3 separate regions of the Homo sapiens genome follow, and all the other regions are linked to region 1. The links are contacts of gene promoters, found by promoter capture Hi-C in human tissues and cell types (Jung and others, 2019). All regions are on one chromosome and are shown on one strand. Each heading gives the region's core, a stretch centred on a gene start or on the middle of the fragment in contact. The rest is flanking DNA. Distances are from core to core; before and after follow the strand shown. Region 1 holds the start of RASD1 (ras related dexamethasone induced 1). Region 2 overlaps SMCR2 (Smith-Magenis syndrome chromosome region, candidate 2). Region 3 overlaps NT5M (5',3'-nucleotidase, mitochondrial).

Evidence for each region. The method cuts DNA at HindIII sites, captures the fragments that hold promoters and counts their contacts. A contact is called where the count stands out against the background at its distance.
Region 2: a contact is called between a fragment that was not itself captured here and the fragment with the promoter of RASD1 in region 1, in 1 of the 25 tissues and cell types used here (dorsolateral prefrontal cortex).
Region 3: a contact is called between a fragment that was not itself captured here and the fragment with the promoter of RASD1 in region 1, in 1 of the 25 tissues and cell types used here (spleen).

Annotation. Positions count from the first base shown.
Region 1 is chr17:17,494,688-17,498,765 of GRCh38, forward strand. RASD1 (ras related dexamethasone induced 1) reads right to left here and starts at 1,708. Exons shown (of 2, transcript NM_016084.5): 1 at 1,209-1,708; 2 at 1-997. The coding sequence starts at 1,494. The coding sequence ends at 438. RefSeq lists silencers at 1,639-1,858, 2,019-2,148, 2,199-2,428. The HindIII fragment of the contact is 34,145 bases long and covers 1-4,078 here.
Region 2 is chr17:17,672,333-17,676,410 of GRCh38, forward strand. SMCR2 (Smith-Magenis syndrome chromosome region, candidate 2) reads right to left here. Exons shown (of 4, transcript NR_131243.2): 2 at 3,878-4,039; 3 at 3,034-3,190; 4 at 1,694-1,824. Among named protein-coding and RNA genes, the nearest start is that of SMCR2, 3.3 kb to the right of the region's middle. RefSeq lists an enhancer at 3,072-3,700. The HindIII fragment of the contact is 4,455 bases long and covers 1-3,916 here.
Region 3 is chr17:17,331,524-17,335,601 of GRCh38, forward strand. All of the region lies in intron 3 of NT5M (5',3'-nucleotidase, mitochondrial), which reads left to right. Among named protein-coding and RNA genes, the nearest start is that of NT5M, 30 kb to the left of the region's middle. The HindIII fragment of the contact is 5,316 bases long and covers 1-4,078 here.

The DNA of each region.
Region 1 (4,078 bases), core at 458-2,957:
CGGCTGTCACAGCAACCCGGAATCACAGACAAGATAATGCCCCGTGGGTCCTGACCCTCAAGCGGGCATGACGGTTTCTTGAAGCCTAGCAGAGGCTGGATAACTTCACATCCCTCCCCCACCCCGCGCTCACTCTTAGGTCTTTGAGAAGATAAATCCACCCTCGGCTGGGCCCTCGCTCCCAAAGTTATGGGGGTGGCGGGCCTCAATGGGGGACCGGGGGTGGGGAATAGTCCCAGTCTTGGCCCGTTCTCTTTCCTTCCGGAGCAGATGACCGTCCCTTCTCGGTTCAGTGGCGCCTCCCCAGTGCTGGGGGCGGATCGCCGGGAGGGGAGACGCCAGTCCGCGCGCGCTCCCGGCCTGGGGCGCACCGGGCCGTTGGATTTGACTTAACAAAAAGGTCCTCCTTAGGTTGTGTCGCCAGCGCGGCGGGGCTCCTAGCTGATGACGCAGCGCTCCTTGTCCTTGGCCTGGCTGCCGGCGCTGGCCTTCTCGCGGATGTACATGAGGTCGCTGTGTACGCTGGGCCGGCGCGCGAAGGGTGCCACGATGCCAAAGGCGTCGCCCGGGTCGCCGCCGCCGCCGCCGCTGCCGGCCCGCAGCAGCTTCTTGTTCCGCAGCGCCTTCTTGTGCAGCACGTCGCAGTACTGCACCGAGACCTTGCGGTGCAGGTCTGGGCTCATCTCGCTGGGCAGCTTGGCCATGGCGAAGAGCGCGCGGAACATCTGGTCCAGGCTGCTGTTCTTCTTGGCCGAGATCTCGAAGTAGGCGCAGCGCTGGGGGTCGTCGCCCACCAGCTGCTCGATCTCGCGCTGGTCCACCTCGCGGTAGAAGTCGCGGTCACCCTTGTTGCCGCAGATGACCAGGGGCACGTCCACGTTCTCCTTGGTTTTGTTCTTGAGGCAAGACTTGGTGTCGAGGATCTGCTGCCTGAGCCGCTGCACCTCCTCGAAGGAGTCGCGGTTGTCCAGACTGAACACCAGGATGAAAACGTCTCCTAGAGGGGGCACAGAGAGCAGAAAAGGAGAAGGTGAGGGTGGCCGCCCAGGGGACAAGTCGGGCTGACTTTGAGGCCGCGCGGGGCGCGCTAGCCTCTCTAAGCGCGAAGCGCACTACTCGGCGCGCGGCAGCCGGACCGGCGCTCGCGGGGCGCCCTGGCCGAGGGTTCCCCGCCCTTCCCTCCCGCACCTGCCCGGCCCCCGGCTCACCTGTGAGGATGGAGAGGCGCCGCATGGCGGGGAACGGGTGGTTGCCGGACGTGTCGAGGATGTCGAGCTGGTAGACCTCGCCGCGGATGGAGTAGAACTTGCGGTGGAAGTCCTCGATGGTAGGCGTGTAGGCGTCCTCGAAGCGGCCGGTGAGGAAGCGCGACACGATGGCCGTCTTGCCCACCTTGGACGAGCCGAGGATGACCATGCGATAGCAGTTCTTGGCCGGGATACTCAGCTCCGAGTCGCTCGGGCACATCTTCTTGATCATCGCGGCCAGTTTCATTGGGCAGAGGGGCCGCGAGGGCGGGCGCGGGGCCGAGAGAAGGGCAGAGAGCGGCTGAGGGTCGCTGGGGTGGCACGCGGGGTGAGCGGCTGGAGGGCTCTGCTCGGGCTGGGCGCGGCTCGGGCTTGGGGCTCCGGCTCCGCTCGGGCTGGGCTCGGGCTAGGCTGGGCTCGGCTGGGGTTCTCCCAGGATCTGGGCACAGGCCGCTTGCTCTGGCTTTGGCGCCCGGCCGCCGCCCTTATATGCAGCCTGCTCGGCTGCCCCGCCCCGGCCCTCCCAGCTCGGTGCGTCACGCCCCGCGGGGCCCGCCTCCCCCGCACCGGCTCCCAGTCCCGGCGACCTCGTCACCCGCTGCCGGGCTCCTGCTCTCTGGGCGCGGGGGCTGGGGGGAGCAGTCCAGGGTCGGGCTGAGGCTGGAGGCGCTCGGACTCCGCTTTTCCACTGCCGCGGGCTCGGCGGCCGCAGGGGCGTCGGGGTTCTGGTCCCGGCGGTGCCCCTGTCCCTCTGCGACTTCGGGCAAGGACCCCCATTCCTGCACCTCCCGCGCGCGTACACTTATTTTCTTTGGTTCTCAGTTTCCCCAGAGAATAGGAATCTAGTAAGTAACCCAGTAAGCGCAGCAGCGTTTGCTGAGTGCTTGCGCGGACCGTATATTGCAGTCCTCAGAGCACAGCCCCAGCCCCAGCCCCCTTCCGCTCCGGTCCCCAGCCGGGCTCTTGTTCCCGGGAGGCGACCGCCGGGCGGACGCGGGGTTTCAGGGCCTCAGGCGCGGAGCTCGGCACCGCGCGCTCGGGCCGCCAGAGGGCAGCAGAGGGCCCGGCCGGCGGCTCGGGGAGGCTGTGGCCGCCGCGGGCAGAGCTAGAACAGAGGCTAGGAGCAGGCGGGTGGGGAGCGGCAGGGATGGAGCAGGGGTCTCAGGGCGCCTTGCTGGGGCCCAACAGGAGCGGTCCCCAACCCCGCGCTCTGCTGCAGGCCTCAGCCTGCTCCTTTCTCCCAGCCAGAGATGCTCTGTGGTATGGAGGGCTCTGCAGCCAGCGGCCCACCCCGTCCATCATAGCATTTTGGGCTTTTACTGTGCCGCGCGTGGGCCGACGTTCTCATTGTCTAGCTGAGAGACCTGGAGCTCAAAGCCACAGCGAGCCAGGAAGGCCCTGGGAGCACAGCACAGCCTCTTGCTTTCTCCTGGGCCTCAGTTTTCTCTTCTGGAAGATACTGATTCTGGTTCTGTGATTAAGGATGAAAATATGCAAATGCTTTAGGAGGGCGGGGCCTGGTAATAACAATAGCAACAATAACAGTAGTATTGACCCATGAGGCCTGGTGGGGGTACTCTCAAGAGCACACCAGGTCGATCAGTAACCAGGAGTGGGGTGATGTTGCTGAACATTGGCAACAGGCTGTCTGGAGCCAGCTCCTCAGCCCTGAGCTCTTGAGGCAGTCACTGCTCCTCAAGGCAACCTGTGTGCTCAGTGTTTTGCTTTGGCCACGTCTGACTTACGAGAAAACTAGGGAGCCATTAGCTGGCACCACCGGCCCAGCTGTCAGGTGGTGGTCTGCAGGCAGTGCTGTGAGTGCCATACCACCCACCCCATGCCTACCCACCTCCCTCCCACGCTGGCACTTGCTGTAGGGGCTGCTGCAGGACACCACTAACTTGTTTCTCAGCCCAGCTTGGCCCCCATCCTCAGAGTCCCTGCATCTCTCCCAGGCCTCACTCTTACTGTCAGATATTTCAAATGCACGCATCACACAGTGAGCATCCAAGGGCTCATCAGTGGCCCTGGCCTGGCTCTGATTCCTGGTGTCACTTATGCAGCAGTTATCCGACAGGCTAGCTGGGGCTGGAGCCCCGCCATTCTTGGTTCCTGCCCCCATCTGAGGTATGTCTGCCAGAGTCTGGGAGAAGGGGAGAAGGAACTGAGTCGCAGCCCTGGATATAGGGCTGCAGTGGTGCAGGGTGTTCACTGCATAAAGGAGCCAGTTGAGGGTACATGGGGGGGCTCAGTTAAGGTACGGACCTGAACCACCTTCAGACTGAGCACCGCCTTCCTGTGCCTCCCACAGCGGCACTGCATGGGCAGCCGGGCTCTAACTTGGGATGACTGATGGCCAGGGCTATAGTGAAGGTGGACCCCACACAGCCATTGCCTCCTGGGGCTCTAGTCCCAAGAGGGTCCATTTGATATGAGTGGAGGGCCCGAGGGTCAAGGATCACAGCCCAGCTCTCCCCTGGTCAGTGTCCAGGCTGGCCCCTTAAATCAGGAACATGACACTGGCAGGCACTGATCTAGCCTGTGTCCTCAGCCACAGTGATTCCTGGTACCATCTGTGCATGGCCGTCTGCCCTACGGATGCTGGGTTGTGAAGACCCAGGCCCACCTGCCATTCCCATTCTGAATGCCCCAGAGCGCCTCCTGTCAAGGAGGTGGCCTCTGGGACTTTACTCCTCAAGCAGCAAGCCAACTTCCTTGTTTCCGCCCTCGTCTTTTCTTTTAAAAGGGCATCTCTTTCCTTTTATTACAAAAGTAATAAATGCTCATGGTTTTTTAAAAACCCAAGCCATTTCAGAAAGGACCAGAATGAA
Region 2 (4,078 bases), core at 439-2,938, 180 kb after region 1:
AGCTTAATGACCAGCGGGGGATCAGGAGGGTGGAGGGGTCTGTGGTCAGCAGCTCGGCTGTCCTGGTGGTTTTATTTCTTGAGCTGACAGTGGTGAATGCAGGAGTGATCAGTGAATTATCTTCCATACCTTCTTGAATATCTTAAATATTTTATAATTAAAGATTGGGTGTGACTGATATTCTCCGGCTCTACATGAAAGCTGGTTGGAGGTACTAAGTCACATTCACAAATTACAGGATCTCTGTCCTCCTAGTCAGCCTGAGTTTCTTTCACCACATCCTGGCTCTGTTTGCATACCCCCAGAAACGGGAAGCTTCCTCTCTCTCTCTTGAAATTGCCTGGGGCCCTCTTTGAACAGCTCTAATTGTGGGAAAGTTCCTCATAAAGAGCCAGAAGCCTGGTCCAGTCCCTCTGCCCACTGGAACCACACAGTCTGTGTGTGATCACACAAAGCCCAGGCGGCCCTTTAGATCTTTGAAGACAGTGCTCATTCTCCTTTTCTCCCCATTCCAAATTTTTCTTCTCTGTGTAAAGTCTCAGTTCTTTTTCAGGCAAGTGACAGAAAACCAGCTCAAACTGGTTTATGATAAAAGGTGAATGTATTGGCTCAAGTGACTTAAAGTCCTGGGGTTGCTGAGCTTCAGGCGCAGCTGAATCCAGGTGCCCAGAAGGTGTCTCCATGTCTCTCAACTCCTCATTCTTCCCCATTGGCTCTGTTTTCAGACCCACAGTCTCAACAACTACCCCTGGAGGCTCCAGCAAAGCTCAGTGCTTCCAGCAAAACTCCTGGAGGGCTTAGGTCATTCGAACCATTCCTGAACCAATCCCTGTGGCCAGGCAAATGGGGCAGTTTGGTCAAACCTGAGTCACGTGACAATCTCTGCATCCTAGAGGTAGGGACCGCCCAGCCTGAACCACATGGGCCATAAGTGGGAAAGAATGGTGCCCACAGGAAAATTGATTGTAATTACCACCAAAAGACTAGATGTATTAGGTAGGACAGAGGCTTTATAACAGAGATCCACAATAACACCGGCTTAAACAAGATGGAATTTTATCCCTCGCTAACTCCAGATGCAAGAGATCTTGGGCTGATACAGTTAATTGTATGATTAGGGTGCCCCATAGCTGAGCATTCATTATCTGAGTTGGAAGTTAAGAGTTGTTAAAACATGAATATATTTAGTACTGTCCTGGCCACTTACTTCGTTCCCAGTCAAGCATCTCACCCTACCTAGCACCAGCATCTGTCCACCCCCCATCTGCATCTCTTCTGTCTGTCAGGTCTGCTTATGCAAGCTGGTAGCAAAGGAAAACTTCAAAGTTGTAGAATTTCTTGAAGTTGATGAGAGTTACGTTGGAGAGCTCCTGGGTTCTGCACACAGTGGCTGACAAACCAAGGATCTATCTATCTGGCTGGGTCAGCCCTGTCTAAATAATGAAAACCCCCAACGTGAAGAAAGATGAACCTGTGCTTTGGAAGAAAATGATTTGAATGTCATAGAACTCAGAGTGGCCCAAAGAACTCAGGGGGATGTGATGAAGCATTCTGGTTGTTAGGACCCAGAAGGTTCTAGTAAGGACCATCAGGCAATTTTGTGGGAAGAACTATGCCTACTCCAATGAACTTTTTGTACTCTAATTGTCTTACTCCATTTTCTGATGCTAAAACAGAATACCACTCTGGGTAATTTGTAAACAATAGAAATTTATTTGGCTCATGCTTCTGAAGACTGGGAAGTCCAAGAGTATGGCACCAGCATCTGGTGGGGGTCTTCATGCTGTATCATCCCATGGTGGAAGGCAGAAGGGCAAGAGAGCACTAGACAGTGAGCAAGAGAGAGCTGAACTCATTTTTACAATAAATCCAGTGTCTTGATCATGAGCTCACTCCTTCAATAAAGAGATTAATCCATTCATGAGGGTTTTGCCCTTATGACCTAATCACTTCTTAATAGTCCCACCTCTTAATACCTTCACAATGGCAATTAAATTTCATCATAAATCAGCCGGGCATGATGGCTCACCACTGTAATCCCAGCACTTTGGGAGGCCAAAGAAGGCAGATCACTTGAGGTCAGGAGTTCAAGACCATCGTGGCCAAAATGGTGAAACCTTGTCTCTACTAAAAATATAAAAATTAGCTGGGTATAGGGGTGGCCACTTGTAATCCCAGCTACTCAAAAGGCTAAGGCAGGAGAATTGCTTGAACCCAGGAGGCAGGAGTTGCACTTAGCCGAGATCATGCCATTGCACTCCAGCCTGGGTGACAAGAACAAAACTCCATCTAAAAAAAAAAAAAATAAAATAAATAAATAAATTTCATCATAAGTTTTGGAGGGGACAGTCAAACCATAACACTAAGTATTAGCACATTAATCTAAGAATTAGCATATTAACCTAAATGTTGTTTGTGGAAGATAAAATGTGTATATTTTCATAGTTTAAATTTCATTTTTCAAAACAAAATTCCAATTAAACATTTTTTTCCCAATTACTAAGAAATGTTGGTTCCCAGAGCTTTGACTTGTGGTCAAAGTGGTCTTTTTCTTGGGATAATGAGACCCTTCTTTAGAGTGGGTTCAATGTCTGTCTCACTTGCCAGACTATGGGGGCTGTGTGGTGGGTCCCACATCATTATTCCTGGAGATGGAATCTAGAATGAGGTTTGGCTCGGCTGCACGCAGTGGCTCATGCCTGTAATCCCAGCACTTTGGGAGGCCAAGGTAGGCAAGGCAGATCACTTAACTCAGGAGTTCAAGAGCAGCCTGAACAACATGGCAAAAACCCATCTCTACAAAAAATACAAAAATTAGCTGGGCGTGATAGCGTGCACCTGTAGTCCAAGCAACTTGGGAGGCTGAGATGGGAGCGGTGCTTGAGCTTGGGAGGCTGAGATGGGAGCGTTGCTTGAGCTTGGGAGGTTGAGGCTGCAGTGAGTCATGATTGTGCCACTGCACTCCAGCCTGGGTGACAGAGTGGGATCCTGTCTGAAAAAAAAATATTGCCTAGAGCTAAGTGGGGCTCTCACCTGCTCCCTCTCTTCTCTCTGCTAGAGACCAGAGGCCTTGAAGGAAGGAAGCCCAAGGGTCTCTCCTGGCTCTGCTTCCCCATCACTGCCTCCACTTCCCCGCATCCCTTTCCCTGGCAGAGGCTTCTTGCCACAGGGCTCTGGGCACTCACAAGACCTACAAAAGAAAGGTTCACATTCACATTTGTCTTCTCTGTAGAAGTGCTGGAGGCTGATGGGGTGAGGGGGAGCAGCAACAGTTGGTGGTCCAGAGTTCTACAATGTTGAACTGTTTTAAATCGTCATAAGCCCAGGAGGCACGGATTGCTACACTCCTCGTTAGAAACCAGAGTCTCAAAGAGGGTGAGGAGGTACCCAAGGCCGTGCTGTTGGTGGCACGGTGGCAGAGCTGGGGCAGGAGTTCTGATTTTCCATCTCATTCCTCTGTTACTGTCTAAGCAGAGAGCCTGGGTGACAGCTACCTACACAGAAGAAGGTATTCTGGGAGAGTTTCCTCCCCTCTCTAGGCCTCTATGTTCTCTGCAAAATGGAGATAATAAGACTGAAATGCACATAGTAGGTGCCAAATAAGTACTAGCTACATGCTTGCTAATGGGAGTCCTCCTGCACACTCACACTCTGCCTGGGCTCTGTAAGAACAGCCCGGAGCCTCCATCCAGTTTTCATCGCAGAGGAGGCGGGGCGGCAGCGTGGGCAGGAGCTCAGGCCAGGAGAATCCCTACTCTAAGTATGACTGTGTGATCTTGGGCAAGTGACTTCATTCCCTAAGTGTGTTTCCTCATCTGAACAAGGAGGCTATTGAAATGCAGGTGAGACCTAGTGAGACAGCGGCTGCGGGAATCACCTGGCCACAGTAAACGCCCTTGCATCCTATTGAGTGAGCCAAGGATAAGCGTGGTCCCTGGCAGGGTGCAGGATTCTATCCTGAAATACACCCCCTCCACTTTCTCCTATTCCAGTCCACCGGGGCCTCTCCTCCAGGCAGGAAACATGATCTCCTTTTGACCTATGAGAAAACAGACAGGAAGTTCAAGGCCACACAGAT
Region 3 (4,078 bases), core at 993-3,492, 160 kb before region 1:
TCTAGTTAGATCTGGCCATTTCATCATTGTAATAGGGATTGTAGACAAAAGTGCATGATCCCTTTATTTATTTATGTAATTTTTTTTTTAAAGACAGAGTCTCGTTCTGTTGCCCAGGTGGATTCTAGTGGAACGATCATAGCTCACTGCAGCCTCTAACTCCCAGACCATCGTGCCTGGTCATAATACCTTTAAAGTGTCCTAGATCAAGCCATTCATTTTGAAAACCTCCAGTTTTATGGTATTCTTTTTCTTTTTCTTTTCTTTTTTTTTTTGAGATGGAGTCTCGCTGTGTCACCTAAGCTGGAGTGCAGTTGCGCGATCTCTGCTCACTGCAAGCTCCGCCTCCTGGGTTCACACCATTCTCCTGCCTTGGCCTCCCAAGTAGCTGGGACTACAGGCGCCCACCACCATGCCTGGCTAATTTTTTGTATTTTTAGTAGAGGCAGGGTTTCAGTGTGTTGGCCAGGATGGTCTTGATTTCCCGACCTCATGATCCACCCGCCTCGGCCTCCCAAAGTGCTAGGATTACAGGTGTGAGCCACCGCATCCGGCCTATGGTATTATTTTTCTAGCAGTGTCATTCACCCAACTCCACACCTGCATACCCCACCCTCCTTGATTTAAGACCTGTCTTGGGATCTGCTCATCTGAGTGGAGCAGGACTCTGTCCCTTCCAACATTTTGCCTGCTAGGGACTGTGTCTAGCTCATAGATCTCTTATTTCTGATGTGTCCATTTGGTCATGGGCCTGTGAGCCACGCGGAGCAGGAAGGGCAGGGAGGTGGGGTCGAGAGCTGCCAGCCATCTGCCCCTCTGATCTTTTCCAGCACTGTCCTCTGCCAGCATCCCCCTTTACTTCTGTGTCTTCTTGGTAATCACTGAACTCTTTGCTCTCGAGGTGGTTCATGGACTTCCTGCCTGCACTCCTAGGTCTTGGAGAGAGCGCCTCCCCTGGGAGTCCTGCCAGCAATTCTTTAGCTACATGTAGTTTTAGGTTCCATGGCAGGCATTTTTCCTGATTCTGGTTTAGAACGACAGCACCGCTTTATGCTTGGATACCTTTACATTCATCTGGGCTGAACTATTTTCTCCCCAGAGCTTTCAGGAACCAAAATGGTAATCAGGTGATGAGCAGCCCTTCTCCTTCCAAACAGCTGCTGATAAACCTAACAGACCCTTGTCAGGCAAATCTGAGCTAAAGGCACAATGCCCCCACCAGTGTGCACATTATTATAGCTGTTGAACCTACGTCAGTGCACCATGGTCACTCAGAGCCCATAGTTTACATCAGGGTTCACTCCCGGTATCCTGCGTTCTGTGGTATTGGTAATCGGGGAGGCTGTGCGTTGTGTGGGAGTGGAGGGTATATGGGAACTCTGTACCTCTGCTCAATTTTGCTGTAAACCTAAACCTGCTCTAAAAAATAAAGTCTCTTAAAAAAAATCCACAGTGAATGAGAGTCCCTCTTGCTCCCTATCCTTGTCAGCATTTGGTATTGTCAGGGCTCTGGATTTTGGCTGTTCTCATAGGCAGGGAGTGGTGTCTCATTGTTGTTTTGATTTGCATTTCCTTGATTAATGACATTGGACATGTTTTTAAGCAAGTAACCCTTTGTATATTTTCTGTAACGAAATGTTCAAGTCTTTTGCCTCGTTTCTCATTGAGTTGTTTGTGAGTTGTGAGAGTTCTTTAGATATGCTAGAAACAAGTTCTTTATCAGATAATGTGTTTTACAAATATTTTATCCCAGTCTGTGATTTGTATTTTAATTTTCTTTTTCTTTTTTTTCTTTTTTGAGAGACAGAGTTTTGCTGTCACTCCAGCTGAAGTACAGTGGCATGATCCCGCCTCACTGCAGCTGTGACCCCCTGGGCTGAAGTGATCCTCCCACCTTAGCCTCCTGAGTAGTTGGGACTATAGGTGTGTGCCGCCATGCCAAGCTAATTTTTAAAACACTTTTTTTTTGTAGAGATGGGGTCTTGCTATGTTGCCCAAGCTGGTCTTGAACCCCTGGACTCAAGCAATCCTCCTGCCTTGGCCTCCCAAAGTGCTGAGGTTACAGGTGAGTTTTCTCAACAGAGTCTTTAGAAGAGCAGAAGTTTTATACTTTTAGATTTTTTATTTAGGTTATGATCCATTTGTTTTTTTGAGACGGAGTTTTGCTTTGTCTCCCTGGCTGTAGTACAACAGCGTGATCTCGGCTCACTGCAACCTCCGCCTCCCAGGTTCAAGCGATTCTACCTGCCTCATCCTCCCTAGTAGCTGGGATTACAGGCACCTACCACCATGCCCAGCTAATGTTTTTGTATTTTTTTTTTTTTTTTTGAGATGGAGTCTCACTCTGTCACCCAGTCTGGAGTGCAGTGGCACAATCTCGGCTCATTGCAAACTCCACCTCCCGGGTTCATGCCATTCTCCTGCCTCAGCCTCCCGAGTAGCTGGGACTACAGGCACCCACCACCACACCTGGCTAATTTTTTGTATTTTTAGTAGAGACGGGGTTTCATCGTGTTAGCCAGGATGGTCTCAATCTCCTGACCTCATGATCCGCCCGCCTCGGCCTCCCAAAGTGCTGGGATTACAGGTGTGAGACACCGTGCCTGGTATGTTTTTGTATTTTAGTAGAGATGGGGTTTCACCATGTTGGCCAGGCTGGTGTCAAACTCCTGACGTCAAGTGATCCACCTGTCTTGGCCTCCCAAAGTATTGGGATTACAAGCGTGAGCCACCATGCCTGGCTCGTTTTGAGTTAATTATCATATATTGTAGGAGGTAAAAATGGAGAGGTTTTTTTTTTTTTTGCATGTGGATCCAGTTGTGCCTCTGTTGGAAAGGCCACCCTTTCTCACTGAAGTGTCATGGTAGCCTGGGGTCCATTTCTGGAATGTATCCTGCTTCTCTGATCTAAGTGTCCCACCTAATGTAAATACCACACTGTCTCAGTTACTGTAGTTTTTTTTTTTTTTTTTTTGAGATGGAGTCTTGCTCTGTCGCCAGGCTGGAGTGCAGTGGTGTGATCTCGGCTCACTGCAACCTCCTACTGGGTTCAAGTGATTCTCGTGCCTCAGCCTCCCGAGTAGCTGGGATTACAGGCACGCGCCACCACACCCAGCTAATTTTTGTATTTTTAGTTGAGACGGGGTTTCACCATGTTGGCCAGGATGGTCTTGATCTCCTGACCTTGTGATCCGCCCACTTTGGCCTCCCAAAGTGCTGGGATTACAGGCGTGAGCCACTGTGCCTGGCCACTGTAGTTTTATAGTAACTTTTGAAAGCAGTGTGAGTTTTCCAAAATTATTCTTCATTTTAAAAATTGTTTTGGCTATTCTGGGTCCTTTATATTTCTATAGAATGTTTAGAACAAGCTGGTCAGTTTCTACAAAGAACCTGGTGAGAATTTGATTGCAAGTGCATTGTAGCTATAAAGCTTAACAATATTGGGTCTTCTGATCCACAAGCACATACACATCCTCATTTATGTAGGCCACCTCTACCTTCTCTCAGCAATGTTTTGTAGCTTTCAGTGTACCACTCTTGCACATATTGTGTTAAATTTGTCTCTATTTCATGTTTTTTTTTTTGGCATAGAGACTATCTTTATAAATATATTTTTAAATATTTTATAATGGTAAATACACATGATAAAATTTATCAAGTGTACAGTTCAGCTTATTTCGTTTTTAATGCTATTATAAACTTTGTTTAATTGAAATTTCCAAATATATAGAATACAAGTGATTTTTTTTTTTGAGATGGAGTCTTGCTCTGTTGCCCAGGCTGGAATGCAGTGGTATGATCTCGGCTCACTGCAAGCTCCGCCTCCTGGGTTCATGCCATTCTCCTGCCTCCACCTCCCAAGTAGCTGGGACTATAGGCGCCCGCCACCATGCCCAGCTAATTTTTGGAATACAAGTGGTTTTTTAATTTTAATTTTTAATTTTTGTGGGTACATAGTAGGTGTGTATTTATGAGGTACATTAGATGTTTTGATACAGGCATGCAATGTGTAACAAACACATCAGGGCAGATGGGGTATCCATTATCACCTTAAACATTCAATCCTTTGTGTTATAGA